Regions from separate parts of the Homo sapiens genome. Here all the other regions are linked to region 3. The links are contacts of gene promoters, found by promoter capture Hi-C in human tissues and cell types (Jung and others, 2019). All regions are on one chromosome and are shown on one strand. The core of a region is centred on a gene start or on the middle of the fragment in contact, and the rest is flanking DNA. Distances in the headings are between cores, read along the strand shown. Region 1 overlaps LINC01727 (long intergenic non-protein coding RNA 1727). Region 2 overlaps LINC01727 (long intergenic non-protein coding RNA 1727). Region 3 holds the start of NKX2-2 (NK2 homeobox 2). Region 4 overlaps LOC105372558 (a long non-coding RNA gene).

Evidence for each region. The method cuts DNA at HindIII sites, captures the fragments that hold promoters and counts their contacts. A contact is called where the count stands out against the background at its distance.
Region 1: a fragment that was not itself captured here is called in contact with the fragment with the promoter of NKX2-2 in region 3 in 4 of the 25 tissues and cell types used here (dorsolateral prefrontal cortex, hippocampus, lymphoblastoid cells and 1 more).
Region 2: a contact is called between a fragment that was not itself captured here and the fragment with the promoter of NKX2-2 in region 3, in 2 of the 25 tissues and cell types used here (bladder and dorsolateral prefrontal cortex).
Region 4: a contact is called between a fragment that was not itself captured here and the fragment with the promoter of NKX2-2 in region 3, in 2 of the 25 tissues and cell types used here (dorsolateral prefrontal cortex and thymus).

What each region holds. Positions count from the first base shown.
Region 1 is chr20:21,615,000-21,617,699 of GRCh38, reverse strand. LINC01727 (long intergenic non-protein coding RNA 1727) reads right to left here. Exons shown (of 4, transcript NR_109880.1): 3 at 2,173-2,317; 4 at 1,978-2,038. The region is part of intron 3 of LINC01726 (long intergenic non-protein coding RNA 1726); the gene reads left to right. Among named protein-coding and RNA genes, the nearest start is that of LINC01727, 46 kb to the right of the region's middle. The HindIII fragment of the contact is 3,224 bases long and covers 1-2,700 here.
Region 2 is chr20:21,595,601-21,598,300 of GRCh38, reverse strand. The region is part of intron 1 of LINC01727 (long intergenic non-protein coding RNA 1727); the gene reads right to left. Among named protein-coding and RNA genes, the nearest start is that of LINC01727, 27 kb to the right of the region's middle. The HindIII fragment of the contact is 3,254 bases long and covers 1-2,700 here.
Region 3 is chr20:21,512,720-21,515,419 of GRCh38, reverse strand. It overlaps NKX2-2 (NK2 homeobox 2), which reads left to right and starts at 1,356. Exons shown (of 2, transcript NM_002509.4): 1 at 1,356-2,009. The coding sequence starts at 1,751. The HindIII fragment of the contact is 15,862 bases long and covers 1-2,700 here.
Region 4 is chr20:21,436,590-21,439,289 of GRCh38, reverse strand. It overlaps LOC105372558 (a long non-coding RNA gene), which reads right to left. Exons shown (of 4, transcript XR_001754528.1): 3 at 1,308-1,374. Among named protein-coding and RNA genes, the nearest start is that of NKX2-4, 40 kb to the right of the region's middle. The HindIII fragment of the contact is 8,149 bases long and covers 1-2,700 here.

The sequences.
Region 1 (2,700 bases), core at 143-2,642, 100 kb before region 3:
CAATGGTGCAAAAGTGATAGGCATTCAGTGGAAACCGTATTGTGAGAACCCATAAAACCATTCTGTTTTTCACTTTCAGTACAGTATTCCATACATTACATGTGATATCTAACACTTTATTATAAAATAGGCTTTGTGTTGGATAATTTTTTCCAACCGTAGGCTAATGTAAGTGTTCTGAGCACATTTAATGTAGGCAAAATTGTTATAATATTCAGCAGATTTAGTGTATTAAATGCATTTTTACTTACATTTTTTCAACTTATTATGGGTTTATGGGATGTAATCTCATTTTAAGTCAAGAAGTGTGTTTATTCAATGACTTGATATAGATTCTGTATTAGAAAACTGTATTTTAGCAATGTATTTTAGCAATTCCCAAGTGTACCAATTATATTATGCTTAGGTAAGGGTGTGTCTTTGTTCTTAAGAGACACACACCAAAGCATTTAGGCATCAAGTGTTATGATGTCTATAGATAATTCCAAAGTGTGATAAAAACTAATAGAGAGCAGATGTGGCAAAAGGTTAACACCGGGTGGATCTACATTTGGTGAAGCACTTACAAGCACACATTGCACTTGTTCGTACAATTTTTTTCAAAGGCTGTTTTTTTTTTCCTAAAGAAAAATAAAGGAGAGAAAAAACTGATGAGGAAGCCTAGTATTGACAAGGTCGTGGGGCACTGGAAATTCTCCTGCGCAGCTGTTGGGAGTGTGAGCTGGCACATGCTGCCTGGAGGGAAGTCGGGCACATAGTAAAGCATAAATCGAGCATACACTTTGACCCACAAACTCCACAGCCCACCGCTTTCAGGTTAACTTAGAGAGAACTCACTAACGTGCAAAGATGTATATGCCCTAAAGTTTCACTGCAATCTTATTTTTTATACCAGAAAAGTAGGAAATGGCTTAATGTCCATCACTGGAAAACTGGTAAGTAAATTATGTTCATTTCTAGCCTACTAGTCAAGATCCTGGGCTCTGAGGTCAGATACCCTGGCAGTGCTGATCAATTTTCTTGTGCCACAGCCTGTTCATCTGCTTAATGGGCATAATACAAACTCCCGTTCTGTAGAGTCATTATGAGATTATGCAAGACCATGTATGTGCCTGGCATATAGCAGGTATGAAATCAGTATTATATACCATTAGCTTTATGTAATTGATAAAAAACGATGAGGCCTACCTTTATTTATGGACCTGGAAAGACGCTTCTGTCATAGTGTTGAATGAAAAAGTAGGTTATGGGATAGAGGAGTACAAGGTCTGATTGCACTTGTGTAAAAGTACATTTTTAATTCCCGTTTGAATATATTCGTAGCAAGATGTCTGGAAGATTGGCCACCTAAGCGTTAATAATGGGTCCCTAAGGTGAGGACGCTTCCAGTCTTTTATTTCCTTCTTTGTACATTTCTATATCCTTCCTTTTTTTCTTTTTTTCTTACAACACATGTAACAGTTTTACAATCAGATTCTATTTAATTGTAAAAATATTAATAAATCAGATCCATGGATCTTGCCTGCTCAGACCTGACTTTGTCTGAAGGGTTGACCAGATGCCCTGCTGATTGAGACCCCAGAGGCTACTTGCCTACCTTTGGTACAAGTCACTGTCCCTTCTCTCAGCCTGAGTGTTCTCTCTGCCAGGCACGCCGGAGGCATTTACGTGTTCAGCTCTTTGTTCTCTCCATGGGATTATGTTTTCCCCACATTTCTACCTCATTTTCACGCAGCCTGCAGCGTGTGTGTGAAGCATGTGTTTGGCTCAAGGGATGACAACACACCTGCAGAGGATTCACTGAAGCCTACCTTGGGGGGCACTCAGCTCTTTTCTGGGTGTTTTCTAAGGGCATCCACACTGTCCGGCAGAAATCCAGTTTGCAGCACCGTTTCCTCCCCAAGCCTGGTTTTCTGCAGCCTGGTCCCTCACCAAGGTGCCAGGATTGAGCTGACCACGAGATGGCAGTCTTTCCTTGCATCAGGCTGGCCGAAGCCTGCATCCCCAGACCTGTGTGCTTCTGAATCCAGCTTCTGTGCTGCCCGAAGCAATTTCAGCAAAGAGATTATTGACTAAAGAGACCTTCACTAAAGAAGAAAACAGTAGGATTAAATATTCGGAAACAGAAGAACTCGAAGAAGAAAATACAATTTCCCAACGTCACATGCTCACCCATCCTTCTCCTCTTCAACAAAAGTCACAACAGTTGTGTGTCCATTTGCAGTCTGGGGTAGAATTAGAATTGCCAAGCATCCCAGTGAGGTCTGAATCCACATTCCTTTATTTCTTTGTGCCACTCAAAGCCAGATATTGATGTCTGAAAACAAGATACATAAGCTTCATTATTTAAGTGTCTCTTCCTTAAACAAGACCGCTTTAATACTTAACAAGGTAGGGAAGCTACATAATTTAAAATCTATGCGACAAGAAATAAGAAATTATTTGTAGCGGGCTCCACTTTTACACCCACCAACAAAGAAAGACATTCACAATTTTTTGCCTTCCCAGGGCCCCAAAATACAACACAGGCCTGTTCTCCTGCTCCGGGCAGAAGCCGCAGCTGAAACTGTTCTTTATCAGCTTTTCTTTCTCAATATTTACCAACCAATAAATCTTTTTTCCCCTAAGACAACTGACATTCGAATCCTGTTCATGTGGAGGCTTGTTATCCAAATAATATTAAATAAACTGCTTCATTTT
Region 2 (2,700 bases), core at 123-2,622, 83 kb before region 3:
GTCGATTGCAGCAACAAAATTTGGGGAGGTGGTAGAGAGCTGATGAAGGAGTTGCAACAAATAATAGACTTCCTGACTTATGCACACCTGAGAAAGATAATTCTAACCTGGTCATGGGAGTGCCCAGAAGCAAAACCTCAGAACCCATGAAGTCTACAATTCTGGAGGTACCTACTCTACAGAATGGGAGCCCAGCTGGGCCTGAATTGAACATAGGGGAATTGGATGCAAACCTATGGAGGAAGATACACTTCCAGAGAGCTGCATGTCCCTCACTGTGTTAGAAGACTGAGCTTGACTCTCTTGGAAATAAAGTAGAACGTTTCTGGCCTGGGGGATACCAGGCACATGGGAGGACAGGTGTCCATACTACAAATAGTTCATTTTATGGAATTTCCATACTGAATATTGGAACCCTCAAACCTATTTACCCCCAGACTCACTGGCCAATAAATATACTGCCCAAAAGGAAATGAGAAGCTTATTCTCTGGGAAATTTGACCAACACAAGAGAAAGGACCTAGATCCTGACATCAAGAGTTCTCCTATGATGACCCGAAAAGATTACCACACAGTGGAACCCATAAGTGATAAGCCTTAACTATATGCTCAACATTTCCAATCTACTTTTCAATGCTCCACTTTTAAATTTCAGCAGACAGCTAAGGATCCCCAGACATGTAAGAAAAGCTCTAGCATGAAGTAGATCCCCCCTAAGAAAAAAACAGATCAAAGTAAATTAGAGGAAACAGAGCCCATGTAGAAAGACAAAAATTATACCAAAAAAGTATCTTTAATATTTTCAGAGAAATCAAATGAAGCTATTATATCAATGAATCTAAAACAACATTATGTAGAAAGGGAACGATCAGAGAACAAAAAATGAGCTCTTAAGAATTTAAAAATATGCTGGGCATGGTGGTACTTGCCTGTAGTCCCAGCTACTGAGGAGACTGAGCCAGGAGGACCACTTGAGTCCAGGATTTCAAGGCTGCAGTGCCCTATGTGATCCCACCTGTGAATAGCCACTGCACTCCAGCCTGGGTAGCATAGCAAGCCTCTGTCTCTTAAAAAAAATAATTAAAAATATGATAGTAGAAAAAAACTCAGAAGAAGTTTGGGAAGTATAGCTCTTCTAAAAAAAAATAAAAGAGTTAGAATTTAAATTTTAAAATACCTTTAAAATTAGAAGATCAGTCCAGGAGGGTCCATAACCAGCAATGAAAGTTCAAGAATGTAAACACAGAGAGGAGAATATTCTTTTTTAAAGTAAATAAATTAACTCAATAAGGTTTACCAGAACTGAAAGACATGAGTCTCCAGGTTGCAATCCCATATCAAATATTCTTCAAAATAGGTGAAAATAGATTTATACCAAGGCTTATTATTTGGGAATTTTAGAGTATTGGAAACAAAGAGAAGGCTCTAAACATTTCCATAAAGAAAATAAAATTGTGTATACAAAGGATTAAGAATCCTTTGTTGTTGGACTTCTCAACAACACCACCAAAGCTAGAAAAAAGTGTTTCCAACCTGAAATTCTGTATTCAGCAAGATGTCGACAAGCACAAGGATAAAATAAAGACATTTTCAAACTTTTGAGGCCAAACTTTTGTGTCTCTTTTGGGTACACTTTTGCAGAAAGCAACTTGAGAGGTGCTTCCCTACATGGATTTTACAAGTTGCTGGTGAATGGTACACCCACACAATGAAGAAAAGGCACAGAATAATTCAAGTAGTGGAATTTGAAAATATAGGTTTTTCTACCCAAATGGAAAAAAATCTTTATTTTTTTTTCTGGTCTTAAAATATGGGGAACTTCAGGTTAAACCTGGAGACCGAATGCAAGTATTGATCACTATTTCTTCCTCAAACCCTTCTAAAATGATTTAAAGGAGCGGAAATTGAAAAGAGGCAAGGAAATTGCAGGGGTGGAGGCAGTAAATCAAGAAAGAAAGATGTGAGATCCAGAGCACATTCTTTTGAGGTGAGATCCATCCCAAAAGAAAAGCAGAAAGAACCAGATGGCAGTTCAGGGAGCTTCTAGGGTGGCCGAGCAGGTCAGGAGAGAGGCCTGCAATCTTGGGACAAGAGGACGGGGACATCTAGGAGGGGTGTCATCAAGATGATGAAACTGCTCCCAAAATACTTGAATGTCCTTGAGGCAGGAGACTGGCAGGACTTATTTTTGAGTCACAACCCCGCTGATGGAAGCAGGATCTAGTCAGAACAGGATGCAGGGAAGAAGCCACCCAAAACCAGCAGACAGCAATGAAAGCAACCTCCAGTTGGCCTAACTGCTCATTACCATGAAGACACTTCCACTAGTGCCATGGCAGCTTGTAAACGCCATGGCAACAAGCCATGGCAACAGCCTGGAAGTTAACTTAAATGGTTCCTGAAACTTCCCGCCTCTTTTCCAGAAACTTCTCAATAACCCACCTCTTAATTAGCATGTGATTCAAAGTGGTATAAATACAGTTGCCAGCGTACACTGCTGATGCTGGGCACACTGCCTATGAGCCAGGCACTGCTTGTTAAAAGTTGCTTTCTCTCACCACTGACCTTGAATTCTTCCCTGGGTGAAGCAAAGAACCCTCTCATGCTAAGTCTCAATTTTGGACCTTCCCTGCCCTGCATCATCTTGAGAAGAAACAGGATCCCAGCAGAAAGCTTGAAAATGAATGAGTGATTTTCTTT
Region 3 (2,700 bases), core at 107-2,606:
AGGCGTCCAAAAAGAGACCACACTAAAGAACTCGCGTGGGAGAAGAAAACTGGGGAGAAAACGAGGCATCGTCGGGCCACCCAGCGACCCCCCTCCCCCGCAGCTTTCTGGGTCTTCACCCAGGCTGGAGACACAACCCCCACCCCCACCCCCGCAATCCCGCCCCGCCGCCTTCCCGCTGCTCCACCTCTAGCCAGAGGCTGGAGAGGGAGGGGGCCGGAGAGGGAGGGATAATAGAGGGCAGGAAAGAGCAGGGCCGTCTGCCCTTTCCTCCACCCGGGGAAAGAGGCCCGCAGAGCCCAGAGGCAGCAGGGCCAGGGTCCGACCCCAGACGAAGTTGGAGCTCCTCACTCTTACCCCGCCCTCCCCGGGACCGCCCGCAAAGCAGAAAGTGAACTGCGCGTCCTCCTTGGCCGCAGAGAGGTGGAGGCGGGGGGTTGGGGGTGGGAGGTGGGGGGAGGCGGAGTGAAGGAAATAAATGAGTCTTTAGCAAATAAAGGGCGGCTGGAAGGGGGCGGGTCGCTTGGTGGTGGCTCTGGCCGGCCCGGAGCGGAGCTCTCTCCTGGGTTTTGGGCTCTCTCGCGGTTAACTGGAATCAATTACTTGCCTTGTCATTTCTAGCACTCATCCTTAAGCCTCAACCAAAATATTGACCTAGGAGGCTTACAGAAGTTGGGCTCTTGCCATTTGAACCGGATCTTGTTTAGGCAACCACCAACGATGGAAAGGAGAGATTTCCGCAGCTCGGCCTTCGCCCCCTCCCCCTTTTCCAAAGGCGCCACAAATCGCCAATTTTCCGGCTTGCCGGGGGTGGGCGCGCGGGGGCGGGGAGGTAGGAACCGGTGAATGTTAAAGAGGATTTTTTCCCTCCTCCTGGTTTCTGTTTTGTTTTCTCCCCTCCTCCTCCCCACCCCCACCTTTTTTAAGATGCAATTTGTTAAAACGGCCCTTTCAAGTGTGTGGACTCGCGAGCGACGCGGTGGCCCTTTGTATGTAAATACTGGGTTTAAAAAAAAAAAGGCTCGCCCCGTCTTTGCAATTAATTGACACGTTACACCTCTCATCTTGCTCTAGAGGGCCGTTGGCTGGGAGCGCGGAGCTCCCCAAAACCCACAATTTCACATCTGCAAATACTGTCTTCATCCACTTGACTCCCAAGACCCGCCCACACGTGGCCAACCTTTGCGTTTTTAATGTCTCTTCCCCCTTTTTTCCACCCTTCTCCCGCTCCCTCTCTCGCTCCCCCTCCCTCCCTCTTTCTTTCCCTCCCTCCCTCTCTTTCTCCCCCTCTCCCCGCCTCCCCAGGTTCGTGAGTGGAGCCCAGCCTTATATGGACTGATCGCTCGGGCAATGGCCCATTTTTTCCTCGCCACCAGCCGCCACCGCGCGCCGAGCGGCCGCCGGAGCCCGAGCTGACGCCGCCTTGGCACCCCTCCTGGAGTTAGAAACTAAGGCCGGGGCCCGCGGCGCTCGGCGCGCAGGCCGCCCGGCTTCCTGCGTCCATTTCCGCGTGCTTTCAAAGAAGACAGAGAGAGGCACTGGGTTGGGCTTCATTTTTTTCCTCCCCATCCCCAGTTTCTTTCTCTTTTTAAAAATAATAATTATCCCAATAATTAAAGCCAATTCCCCCCTCCCCTCCCCCAGTCCCTCCCCCCAACTCCCCCCTCCCCCGCCCGCCGGGGCAGGGGAGCGCCACGAATTGACCAAGTGAAGCTACAACTTTGCGACATAAATTTTGGGGTCTCGAACCATGTCGCTGACCAACACAAAGACGGGGTTTTCGGTCAAGGACATCTTAGACCTGCCGGACACCAACGATGAGGAGGGCTCTGTGGCCGAAGGTCCGGAGGAAGAGAACGAGGGGCCCGAGCCAGCCAAGAGGGCCGGGCCGCTGGGGCAGGGCGCCCTGGACGCGGTGCAGAGCCTGCCCCTGAAGAACCCCTTCTACGACAGCAGCGACAACCCGTACACGCGCTGGCTGGCCAGCACCGAGGGCCTTCAGTACTCCCGTAAGTAGCAAAACTTGGCTGCCGAGGCCGTGGTCCCCTCCATTCCTGCAGCCGCAGCCCGGGTTGGACGCTGGGAGTGAAAGGGGAAGGGGCCATGTAAGCCCGGACCCCCTCACTCGGATCCGTAGAAAGATTTTTAACACCTGTATAGGATGTCCTCTGCCCTCCTCTTCAAGCCTCCTTAGTTCCGGGAAAGAACTTGGTCTCCAAAATTTTTTTCAATGCGAGAAGTTAAGGAGAAAGAGGGAGAAGGGCTATACCTCCCAGGGGCTGGTATATGATGTCAACCCGGACCGATGGCTCCAGCCGCAGCCCCCGGACTCCGGCCGCTGGGAGGGACTGGCCTGGCGCCCTGGAGGTAGCCAGCGAGCCTCGTCCGGGTACGGGTGGAGGGTGGGGAGGCTTCGGGTGGCCCGGGTATAAATAGCTCACCCTGCCCCCTGCGCGATCATAGAGGACGCTTTGTGCAGTGCAGGGGGTGTCTAGAAGGCCCGAAAGCAGAAACGAAAGCCCCCAAAAACCTGCCTTAAATGGCCGAGCCGATCAATGCTGGGATTGTGGGGTATTTCTTTTAAAAATCTGCCCACGTCTCGCCGGAGAGGAAACCGCTTAAGGGCGCCGGAGCCCTTAACCCGCGATGATCTTCAGTGCCACTTCCCCCCCCAAATTCTCACCCACACTATGTGAGCCC
Region 4 (2,700 bases), core at 66-2,565, 76 kb after region 3:
ATAGTTAGCTCTCATCTCTACAAAAATAATTTTGTTTTAATGAGCCAGGTGTAGTGGCATGCACCTGTATTCCCAGCTATTCAGGAGGCTGAGACAGGAGGAGTGCTTGAACCCAGGAGTCTGAGACTGTAGGGAGCTATGACTGCACCACTTCACTCCAATAAAGGGCAATAAAGTGAGAACCTGTCTCACAAAAAAAAAGAAAAAGAAAGAAAGAAAGAAAGAAAAAGAAAAGAAAAGAAAGGCAGGCAGGCTGAGCAGAGTTTAGAGGAAAACTATTGAGAAGATAATGTCACATAATGAGGTTGGGGTGTTTTATATTTTAGAATATAGCATCTTGGCTTGTGATGGTTTGATTTACTTTTTTCTTTTTTTCTTTTTTTTTTTTTTTTGAGATGGAGTCTTGCTCTGTTGCCCAGACTGGAGTGCAGTGGCACAATCTCAGCTCACTGCAGCCTCGGCCTCCCAGGTTCAAGCGATCCTCTCCTGTCTCAGCCTCCCAAGTAGCTGGGATTACACATGTGTGCCACCACACCTGGCTAATTTTTGTATTTTTAGTAGAGAAAGGGTTTTGCCATGTTGCCCAGACTGGTTTGGAACTCCTGACCTCAGGTGATCCACCCGCCTCAGCCACCCAAAGTGCTGGGATTACAGGTGTGAGCCACCTCACCTGGCCAACTTACATTTTTCAAAACTATTCTGATGGGTTTATCAGGGTATTAAATGCATTTTACACTTATGATATTTTCAACTAATGGTGAGTTTATTGGGACATAACCCCATCATAAGTCAAGGAGCATTTGTATTAATTTTTTAATTACCAGTTAGTCAGGGTTCTCCAGAGAAACAGAACCAAAAGGATATATATATATATATGAATTGACTCATGTGATTGTGGAGCTGGAAAGTCTCAAATCTGCAGACCAGGCTGGAGACAGAACTCCTTCCTCTGGGGACCTCGCTCTTTTCTCATAATGTCTGTAACTGATTGGACAAGGCCCACGTACATTATGGAGAGTAATATGCTAGCTCAAAGCCTACTGATTTAAGTGTTAATCAGTTTAAACAGTACCTTCACAGCAACACCTAGACTGGTATTAGACTAAACAACTGGGCACCATGGCTTGGTCAAGTTGATACACAAAATTAGCTATTATATCTTTATATCTTTAGTACAGATTCTACGTATTAGAAAGATGAAAACATCATGCCACTCCTAATTCCAGCCTTTCCAAATGCTTTAAGATGCCATGCAATCACATGCTAAAATCTGATTCACTGACCCAGAGAAATAAGTAACTACTTACTAATACAGCAGCCCTTGAACATGGTTCCATGATCTATTCAGACCTCTTGAAGGATGACAGAAACATTCTAATGGTAAATGAGAACAATATTTGACATTGCCATATTTTCTTATGAACATAAGCATAAACTACAACATTAAATAGTAACATCGGAGGATCATCAGATTGTATTAAAGTTTAACATTTTATAAGACTGACATGCTGCCAACTGTGCCAACAGGATGATTAAAGTTTAACATTTTAGATACCTGTTTTGGGGAAATTATGTCTGAACATCATGATTTTACTTTTATAGCATTATTTCATCATCATATTAGTATTGTGTTTATTTTCATAAGGAACAAGATATAGTTCTCTTTCAATAATCAACATGTAGGTACACTAAATGTGATTTTGACAGATTATAATGATTACATTGGTCATGTTATAGTATAGGTTCTGTCAGGATTGTACAGTAATTGCTTAAATTTTTCTGAGTTCAGAGCTTACTGATATAATTCCATTTGACTTAATAAACAAATCTAATCCATGTAAATGCTGACATTATGATTTATTTGCATTTTACTACTGAATTTTTAGTTTTAATTACAAGAAGCCAATATCACTCATGACTTGAAAATTATTGCCCCTGTTTTAAGTAAAATTTTGTCCAACATTTTCCAGAAAAGCGGGATCAATGATTGTTACTTTCCCATTTTTAATTTTTGAGAGGTTTCTATATTAACAATTTTTATTTCTGCCAAATATGTCTAGCAAAGAAATCTCTCAACCTCATGAACTTGAACTAAGTGTGAAATTCCTGTTGCTCTCTCAGAAATTTCTGGTTTGGAATTCTGACAAGCAGAGAAATGGAATAAAAAGGATTTCTGCAGTGAAAGACACTTGAATAATGCCTTGAAAATGAAAGCAAACTATCTAACACATAACAAAAACCTATGTAGGAAACATGTATCAAAGGATTTAAAAAGGCACAGTAGTATAGAAACAAAAGAATAGAATACTAATCTTTTAAAAACAAATAACTACAAATGGAATTTATGACACAAGAGCCTGGTATAGGACAAGCTTTACAGAATGCAAAAATTAATCACATAGCATAGCATTAAGTGGTGAAAAATGAGTAATATTTGATTCTTCAGTTTTGCCAACCCAATCATTCAGGCCTTGAAAATTAGTATTGAACATGGAGTCCAACTTATCTCAAACTAAAAATGGTCACAAAGATATATGTAGTTAATCTAAGTCAAAGAACCCACTAAACTGAAATGGCCATTTACACACTCAACAAAAGCAGGCATATCCAAGAAATAAATTCTATACTACGTTAGTTTGTAGTGATCAAAGTGGTTACCAAGAAAGACAGAAAATCTGAAAAGCAAGCAGTCAAGAGCAG